Regions from separate parts of the Homo sapiens genome. Here region 2 is linked to region 1. The links are contacts of gene promoters, found by promoter capture Hi-C in blood cells and fetal thymus (Javierre and others, 2016). All regions are on one chromosome and are shown on one strand. The core of a region is centred on a gene start or on the middle of the fragment in contact, and the rest is flanking DNA. Distances in the headings are between cores, read along the strand shown.

Region 1 (4,979 bases), core at 1,494-3,993:
ATCTTGGCTCACCACAACCTCCGCCTCCCAGGTTCAAGTGATTCTCCTGCCTCAGCCTCCCAAGTAGCTGGGATTACAGGCATGTGCCACCATGCCCGGCTAATTTTGCATTTTTAGTAGAGACAGGGTTTCTCCGTCAGGCTGGTCTCGAACTCCCGACCTCAGATGATCTGCCCGCCTCAGCCTCCCAAAGGGCGGGATTACAGGCGTGAGCCTCCTCACCTGGCCATCAAACTCATAATTTATAAACAATAGAAATGTATTTATTATGGTTCTGGAGGCTGAAGAGTCCAAGATGAAGGTGCCAGCAGGATTGGTATCTGGTGAGGGCTGCTCTCTGCTTCCAAGATGGTGCCTTGTTGCTGCATCCTCTGGAGGGGAAGGAATAGTGTGTCCTTACATGGTAGGAAAGCAGAAGAGCAAAAAGGGCCTAAACTAGCTCCCTCCAGCCCTTTCATAAGGCACTAATTTATTCATGAAGTAGGATCCCTCATGACATTACTTGCTAAAAGGCCCCGCCTCTCAATGCCACCATGGTGGGGATTAAGTTTCAACACAAGAATTTTGAAGGACATTCAGACCATAGCACAGCCCAATCCAAGCTTGCCTCCAGGAAAAGATGTGATTCAAACACTTTAGCAGAGTAAACAAGTTCCTTCATAACCTGGCCTTCAACTGCCTCATCAACCTCATTTCCCGCCACTGCCCTCTTCTTTCCAGTGTGACACAGCGAAACGGCACAGATTTGTGTCCATATGGACCTAGTATTGAATTCTGGCTCTGCTGCTTCCTAGCTCAGGAAGCTTAGATGAAGTCAATTTATCTCTCTGAGCCTGTTTCCACATCTGAAAAATGTGGATAATAGTATACTAAAAGGCCTCTTAATAAAGGCCTTAAAGTCATACAAACCAGGAAAATAGCCCATGTTCTCCAAGATCCCCCACCTCCCCCCAACCCTTTTCTTTTTTTTGAGATGGAGTCTTGCTCTGTCGCCCAGGCTGGAGTGCAATGGCACGATCTCAGCTCACTGCAACGTCTGCCTCCTGGGTTCAAGCGATTCTTCCACCCCAGCCTCCCGAGAAGCTGGGATTACAGGCACCCGCCACCATGCCCAGCTAATTTTTGTAGAGACGGGGGTTTCACCATTTGGCCAGGCTGGTCTTGAACTCCTGACCTCAGGTGATCCGCCCGCCTCGGCCTCCCAAAGTGCTGGGATTACAGGTTCAGTGAGCCACTGAACCCGGCCTCCAACATTCCTTTTAACTCATAACGGTCTATAAATTTTATGAAAAGCTTAAAATTCTCTGGACATATGATGTATGACTGGGCCAATAGGTGAGTTTTCCAATACTGAATGCTAAATTAGTGTCTTGAGGAGTCATGTCTGTGTTCTTAACAGTATATGAACAAGGACAATTTTTGTTGGCCCACAACCTCCTATTTAGTGTCACCCAAGCAAGCCACTTAAACTCAATCACATTTCCTTAAGCTCTAGGCTCTGCCTTCTTTTTAGGCTCTGCATTTGAAAATGACTGTATCTTAGTTGGTGCTTCTGAAGAAATGATGACCACAGCACTACTTCTTTTTTTTTAAATTATTTTTGTCTTCCTTTTATTATACCAAGTATGTGAACCTAGTTACTTATTTCTTAAATAAGAACTTTAATTTTTTTTTTTTTTTTGAGATGGAGTCTTTCTCTGTCACCCAGGCTGGAGTGCAGTGGCATGATCTTGGCTCACTGCAGCCTCCACCTCCAGGGTTTGAGATTCTTGAAGACCCTTCTCTCTTTCTCTCTCTCTTTTTAAGAAAATAAATACAGCATAACGCCCTGTGGAGAAGAAAAAAATTTTTTTTAAAGAGACGGGAGTCTCACCATGTTGCCCAGGCTGGTCTCGAACTCCTAAGTGCAAGTGATCCTCCCACCTTAGCCTCCCAAAAGGCTAGGATAACAGGCGTGAGGCACTGCACCCAGCCTTTTTTTTTTTTTTTTTTTTTTTTGAGATGGAGTCTCGCTTTGCCACCCAGGCTGGAGTGCAGTGGTGCAATCCCGGCTCACTGCAACCTCCACCTCCTGGGTCCAAGCGATTCTCGTGCCTCAGCCACCCGAGTAGCTGGGACTGCGGGCGCCCGCCACCACGCCCGGCTAATTTTTTGTATTTTTAGTAGAGACGGGGTGTCACCATTTTAGCCAGGTTGGTCTCGAACTCCTGACCTCACGTGATCCGCCCGCCCCGGTCTCCCAAAGTGCTGGGATTACAGGCGTGAACCACCGCGTCTGGTCGCTTCTTCAATGTTAGTTTAAATCACAGGGACTATGCCTCCCAGGGTGTTTGAATTCAAAGCACGGTCAGTGCCAGGTACTGGCGATCAAGGAAGGGAAGATATCTGTGGATGCGGGGCAGGGTATGGTTGGGGGACGCAGGCGTTGGAGATCTCCAGGGGTCGCCGCAATGACTGGGATCATATCGGGCAGTCTCCTCCACTCACAATGATGGCACACGCACGCGCGAACGAATTGGCTGCAGCATGGTTTGAATTGGATTGAAACGCGAGGGATCACAGACTGAGGCAGCACACTCCGTGTCTCGAAGGCAGAGATCACCTTCTGCTTCCCGGCGCGCGTAGGCGCAGGCGCCCACCGTCATGGGCGGGGCTCAGGCGGAGGCGTCGCAGCGCGTGGTCGCGGATTGGCCGGCCGCGAGGCCGTCGGTTGGCTGTGTCCCTCTCCACGGCGCACAGAGCATGCGCGGGGCGGGAGTGAGCGAAATTCAAGCTCCAAACTCTAAGCTCCAAGCTCCAAGCTCCAAGCTCCAAGCTCCAAACTCCCGCCGGGGTAACTGGAACCCAATCCGAGGGTCATGGAGGCATCCCGAAGGTTTCCGGAAGCCGAGGCCTTGAGCCCAGAGCAGGCTGCTCATTACCTAAGGTATGTCTGGACCGCTGGGCGGGTCTAGCTAACCGACCTGGCCCAGGGTGGAGGTGGGGTGGCCCCCGGATCCTCCTGGGGACCCGAACTGTTGAGGCGGAGCCTTTTGAGACGCGCGCTCGCGCTCTTCTCGCAGTAGGGTGTGGGAGTCAGCTCTGGATGTTTGACCAGATTTCTAAAACCTGAGGAGACCCCGATGCCTCTTCTTTTGGGCAAATGACCCTCCAGTATGGTCTCCTTAAAAGCCAGAGGAGCCTTAATTAATCAAGCCCTTCTTGATTCTTTTCAGCTTATCAAGCCCTAAGTCTAGGGGATACAGAGATGAGTAAAACAAGGTCCCCGCCCCCAAATTGTTTGTAATCTAGTAGTGGAAACGGATCTGTAAAGCAATAATTACTAGGTTTGATAAGTGCTGTAAGAGGTATAATGTACGTGCAGGGCACAGTGTTGGCATAAAAGAGGGAATGGCCAACTACAAGGGTGGTCAGCTAAGGGATGGCGTGGCAAGAGGAGACATTTGAGCTAGGCGTTGAAAAATGAGTAAACATTCACCAGTTGGCTAAGGGTGGGGGGCGTGGTAATGTTGGGATGAGAATTTAAATTTTTTCTTAAATTGTGGTAAAGTACACATAACATAAATTTTATCTTTTTGTGCAGAAACTGGGTTTTATGAAAAATAAAGTTTATCATCCTAACCATTTTTAAATGTACAGTTCAGTAGTGTTGACTACATTCATATTGTTGTGCAGCCGTCCGTCATCTCCAGAACTTTTCTCATGTGGCAAAACTGAAACTACTCCCATTAAACAAACTCCCCATTTCCCCCTCCCTTCAGCCCCTAGCAACCATTATTCTGTCTCTGTGAATTTTACTGCTTTAATTTTTTTTGAGACAGGGTCTTGCTGTGTCGCCCAGACTGGAATTCAGTGGCCTGATCATAGTTCACTGCAGCCTCGAACTCCTGGGCTCAAGCAGTCCTCCTGCCCCAGCCTCCCTAGTAGCTGGGACTTAAGGTGGGTGCCACCATGTCCAGCCAATTTATTATTTTACTATTGTTGTTTTATATATATTTTTAGAGACAGGGTCTGGCTCTGTCACCCAGGCTGGAGTGCAGTGGCGCGATCTCTAACTCAGCTCACTGCAACTTCCATCCCCCGGGGCTCATGCGATCCTCCCACCTGTTTCCGGAGTAGCTGGGACCACAGGCGCACACCACCACACCCAGCTATTTTTTTTTTTTCTTTTTTTGATACAGTCTCGCTCTGTCACCCAGGCTGGAGTGCAGTGGCGCGGTCTGGGCTCACAGCAAGCTCCGCCTTCCGGGTTCACGCCATTCTCCTGCCTCAGCCTCCCGAGTAGCTGGGACTACAGGCGCCCGCTAACACACCCGGCTAATTTTTTGTATTTTTGGTAGAGACGGGGTTTCACCGTGTTAGCCGGGATGGTCTCAATCTCCTGACCTCGTGATCCGCCCGCCTCGGCCTCCCAAAGTATTTTTTTTGTGTTTTTAGTAGAGACAGGGTCTCGCCATGTTGCCCAGGCTGGTCTCAAACTCCTGAGTTCAAGCAATCCTCCTGCCTCGGCCTCCCAAAGTGTTGAGATTACAGACGTGGGCCACCATGCCAGGCCTTTCATTTAGATTTTTCCAATTGTTTGCCATTATACTTTTGTTGTAATAGGCAGCCTTTGTGTGAATTTTTGTGCACTTCGTAACTGAGTGTACACTTTGGAATTCCGATTGCTGGGTCTTAGGGAATGTGTATTTAAAATTGCCATTCAAGAAAACCATGCCAGATTTTAATAAAGTCAATAGTGTGAGTAAGCATTTATTTATATTCTCTCAGGCTGGTGTGTGATGAGCTATATGAGTCAATTCAAAAGTTAAGATACATAGTTTTACTTTTGAAGCTAAGACTTGTAGTATTTTCTTCTACAGATACACTTACATGAGTGAGCAAAGATGTGTGTGCGTGTGTATACAGTAAGTCCTCACTTAACATTGTCCATAGGTTCTTGGAAACTGACTTTAAGTGAAATGACGTAGCAAAACCAA
Region 2 (4,979 bases), core at 1,503-4,002, 980 kb before region 1:
TAAAAATCATTCATTCACACACTTGAAAAGGGTGCATTACATGATACACAAAATAAGCCCAAGTAGAACTATTTTAAAAACAAATAAAACTGACATGAACTTTATTGTACAAGCCTTTTTGTGTATTTACATAAGTAGGTCATTGCTGAATCCTAGGAGAGGCATGTGTTTAGATTTAATAGATAATGCCAAACAATTTTTAAAGTTTTTATACCAGTTTACACTCCCATTAGTAATATCTAAGAGTCCAAATTGCTCTACATCTTTGCCAAAATTTGGAATTGTTAGACATTTTAATTTTAGCCATTGATAATTTTCTTTATATGTTAATCATTTATTTGTTTTGCATCTATATATGTGTTTTGCATATATATATTTCACCCATTTTTCTTAGGTCTCATTTTACTTAAGATATTATTTACATTTTTGCTTGTTAGTTTTGGATTTTTTAAATTTATTTACTCATTTGCTAAAAGTGTATTGAACATCTATTTTTTACCAAGCATATACTGATAGGACCTTTTTATTTTTTTGAGACAGGTCTCACTGTCACTCAGACTGGAGTGCAGTGGCACAATCATGGCTCACTGCAGTCTTGGCATCCTGGGCTCAAACAATCTTCCTACCTAAGTCTCCCCAGTAGCTGGGACCACAGGTGTGTACCAACATGCCTGGCTATTTTTTATTTTTTATTTTTTTGCATAGATGGGAGTCTCACTATGTTTCCCAGGCTGACTTCAAACTCCTGGGCTCAAGTGACCCTCTCACATTGGCCCCCCATAGTGCTGGAATCATGGGTGTGAGCCACTGCATCTGGCCCGAGTTTCTTTTTTTTAAAAATGTTGTTGATTCATAATAATTGTAAATATCTATGGGATACATGTAATATTTTGATACATGCACAAAATGTGTATTGATCAAATCAGGGTAATTAGGACATCCATCACCTGACAAATAATAAGTATTTATCATTTCTTTGTGTTGGGAACATTCAAAATCTTCTTTTATAGCAATATTGAAATATACAATAAATTATTATGAACTATAGTCACCCTACTGTGCTGTTGAACACTAGAACTAATTCCTTCTATCTAACTGTATTTTGGTACCCATTAACTAACATTTCACTCCACTCTACCCATCCCAGCCTGATAATCATTATTCTACTCGCTATATGCATGAGATGAGTTTTTTAGTTCCCACATATTAGTGAGAACATGTGATATTCATCTTACTGTGCCTGGCTTATTTCACTTAACATAATGTTCTGCCGTTCCATCCATGTTGTTGCAAATGACAGAATTTCATTCCTTTTATAGCTGAATAATATTCCTTTGCGTGTATATGTCATACTTTCTTTATCTTTTCTTTTATTGATGGACATGGGTTGATTCCATATCTTGGGTCTTGTTAATAGTGCTGCAATACACATGAGAACGCAGAGATCTTTTCAATATACAGATTTTCTTTCTTTTGGACATGTAAGCAGCAGCGGGATTGCTGGACCATATGGTAGTTCTATTTTAAGCTTTTTGAGAAATGTTCATACTGTTTTCCATAGTGGCTGTACTAATTTACATTCCCTTCAACAGTGTATATGAGTTTCCTTTTCTTTGCATCCTTGCCAGCATTTGTTATTTATTTTTTGATAATAGTTATTTTAACTGGGATGAGATTATATCTCATTGTGGTTTTGATTTGCATTTCCCTGATGACTGGAAATATTGAGCATCATTTTTAATATACCTTGGCCATTCATTCATGTATCTTCTTTTCAGAAATTTGTATTCATATTTTTTACTATTTTTTAATCAAATTATTTGAGTTTTTTTCATTGAGTTGTTTGAGTTTCTTATATATTCTGGTTATTAATCCCTTGTCAGATGGATATTTTGAAAATATTTTTCCCATTCTGTAAGTTGTCTCTTTACCCTATTGTTTTCTTTGCTGTGCAGAAGCTTTTTAGCTTAACGTGTTCCCATTTGTCTACTTTTGCTTTTGTTGCCTGTGCTTTCGAGGGCTTAAAAAGAAAATATTTGCTCAGACCAATGTCCTAAAGCATCTTCCCAGTTTTGTCTAGTAGTTTCATAGTTTCAGGTCTTACATTTAAGTCTTTAGTTCATTTTTATTTGATTTCTGTATACGGTGAGAGATAGGGGTCCAGTTTTATTCTTTCTCATACAAATATCCAGCTTTCCCAGCATCATTTATTGAAGAGTCTGTCATTTCCCTAATGTATGTTTTCGGTGACTTTGTTGCAAATGAGTTGGCTGTAAATGTGTGGGTTTATTTCTGGGTTCTCTATTCTGTTCCATTGGTTTTTTGCGTCTGTATTTATGACAGTACCATGCAGCTTTGTAGTACATTTTGTCATCAGGCAGTGTGATGCCTCCAGCTTTGTCCTTTTTGCTCAGGATCATTTTGGCTATTTGGGATCTTTTGTAGTTTCATAAAAGTTTTAGGATATTGTTTTCTGTTTCTGTGAAGAATGTCATTGGTATTTTGATAGAGATTGCATTGAATATGTAGATTTCTTTGGGTAGTATAAACATTTTAACAATATTGATTCTTCTAATCCATAAGCATAGGATATCTTTCCATTTTGGGGTTCTCTTCATCTCTTTCATTAGTGTTTTTATAGTTTTTATTGCGTAGATCTTTCACTTCTTTGGTTAAATTTATTCCTAGATGTATTATTTTCTTGTAGCTATTGTAAATGGGATTGTTTTCTTGATTTTTTCAAATTGTCTGCTGCTGGTGTACAGAAATGCTACTAATTTATGTGTGTTGATTTTGCTTCATGCAAACTTACTTAATTTGTTAGTTCTAACAGTTTTTTTGTGGAGTCTTTAGGTTTTTCTAAATATAAGATCATGTCTTCTTTGAACAAGGATATAAATTAGCAACTTCCTTTCCAATATGTATGTCCTTTATTTTTTTCTCTTGCAAAATTGCTCTGGGTAGGACTTCCAGTACTATATTGAATATGGTCTTTAAAATATTTTTCTCTACACTTTATATTATGATAAAATATACATAACATAATATTTACCATTTTACCTATTTTTAAATCTACATTTCAGGAGCATTAAGTACAATCACACTGCTGTGAACCATCATCACCATACATCTCCAGAATATTTTCTTTTTCTTGAACTGAAACTCCATACACATTGAACAATAACTTCCTTTCCTCCCTACCCCAAGCCTCTGAAAACCATGTTTCTACTTTCTGTCTCTGTGAATTTGACTGCTCTAGATACCTAATTAAAGTAGAATCATACAATATTTGTTCTTTTGTATCTGGTATTTTCACTTAAAGGAAAAATTTATCTATAAACTGACAGAATTTAGAAATAAATACAACAATATGTAAACAGTTTTAATATCTGTGATAGTAACAAATTCTTTAAATCTGGAAAATAATAGTCACTTAAAATTTTAAAAAATTGTTCAATTAATAAATGATCCAAGTTAGAAATATGAACAAAATAAACCTCACCAATAATTACTATAGAGAGGAAATTTTAATTACTGCAAAGCTTTCCATCCTATAAATACATTATCAAATAGTTTAACCATTTCTTTAATGCTGAGATTTAGATTATTTCCAATTAACTCAAAAGCATCAAGCAAATGTTATGATTTCTAAGAATAAACATAACTTTCCATTTTGGCTTTTGTATATATGTATATTTCTAACGGCTGTTAAAGCCAGCATTAAGAAGGAGAAGCAGAAAGTCAGTATTGGGACTGGGGTTATTTATAAGCCAGGCAACTGGTTAATTGTGGTTAATTGTCTGGTATGTTTACTAGTCACGTAGTTGTATACACCATACTAGTTTTTCATCACAGGCCCTCATTCGCCCCCACTGCCATCGGACTTCCTCCTCCTCCCCTCACAGGAAATGTTTCGAGAATTTTTCAACCTAAAATCATATAGCTTGTGAAAAATACCGACAAACATAATATAGAATATTTAAATAACTGACACGCCACCTAAAGACCATCAGTGCTAATTCCTGGTGTTTTTAATCTTTGAAGCGTTTGTTTATCAGCTCTTCCACCATCCACCTCTCCCCTCCCCAGGTCCCCGATCTAAAATCAAAGAGATTGATTTAGGATGGGTGGGTGCCTTGTCTTCTCTCATTGTTCGACATTTTAGTTACGTTTTCTCTGAGCTCTCTGGAAAGCATAAAAGTATAATATCTGTTAAAAGTTGGATGAATGAACTAATGAACGCAATGGGATTCCAGAAAACTCTGCGGGAGATGGGCTAGAGGACGAGGAGGAGGTGGATGAATCAGCCATGTTAGAGAGCCTGGGAAGGTGAGCAGAGTTGAAAACTTGATAGATCTAATAATTTACTGGCTCTGGGTTTGTCAGTCACTACATTGCAGCAAATGAGATTAGAGCATAGTTGTGGGAGGGAAGGAGGTGACGCAGCAATCTATTTGCACCTAGAAATTTTAGGCAAGTGATAGCTGCGTAATCATACTGCGGCACCGTTTTTTTCTTGCAGCAGTAGCTGCTTGCGGAGGAGGTCTGCCCACTGCAGCTCTCTGCAGTCTCCGGCTCTCTCCTGCAGGATCGGTCAACGCAGCCGTCGCCGCCCTCTGCACCCAGCCCAGGTCGCCACTGCTTCAGTCCGGTTCTCAAAGCCTCAGCACCATCTTTTATCCCCGAGCAGCCTGGATCGTCGTTCCCTCAGTCCGGACGCCACTGCTAGGTCCGACCACCGCCGCTTCTGATATTTCGGTGAGTCTTTTCCTGTGGAGGTTTGGTCTCCCGATCTCTGTGGTAGCCACCTTAGGCGTGTACGGTCCTTTGAAAAATGGCCGAGTCAGAGAACCGCAAGGAGCTGTCAGAATCCAGTCAAGAAGAGGCTGGTAATCAGATAATGGTGGAAGGGCTCGGGGAACATCTGGAGCGCGGTGAAGATGCCGCTGCTGGGCTTGGAGACGATGGGAAGTGCGGTG

Evidence for each region. Contacts are between HindIII fragments. The CHiCAGO score rates a contact against its expected background, and 5 or more counts as called.
Region 2: a fragment that was not itself captured here is called in contact with the fragment with the promoter of ERCC6L in region 1 in 1 of 17 cell types (naive CD4 T cells); the score reaches 6.0 in naive CD4 T cells.

What each region holds. Positions count from the first base shown.
Region 1 is chrX:72,236,791-72,241,769 of GRCh38, reverse strand. ERCC6L (ERCC excision repair 6 like, spindle assembly checkpoint helicase) reads left to right here and starts at 2,743. Exons shown (of 2, transcript NM_017669.4): 1 at 2,743-2,926. The coding sequence starts at 2,859. It also overlaps a transcript of PIN4 not described here. RefSeq lists an enhancer at 2,812-2,961. The HindIII fragment of the contact is 5,695 bases long and covers 1,296-4,979 here.
Region 2 is chrX:73,214,348-73,219,326 of GRCh38, reverse strand. NAP1L2 (nucleosome assembly protein 1 like 2) reads left to right here and starts at 4,476. Exons shown (of 1, transcript NM_021963.4): 1 at 4,476-4,979. The coding sequence starts at 4,835. The HindIII fragment of the contact is 1,584 bases long and covers 1,961-3,544 here.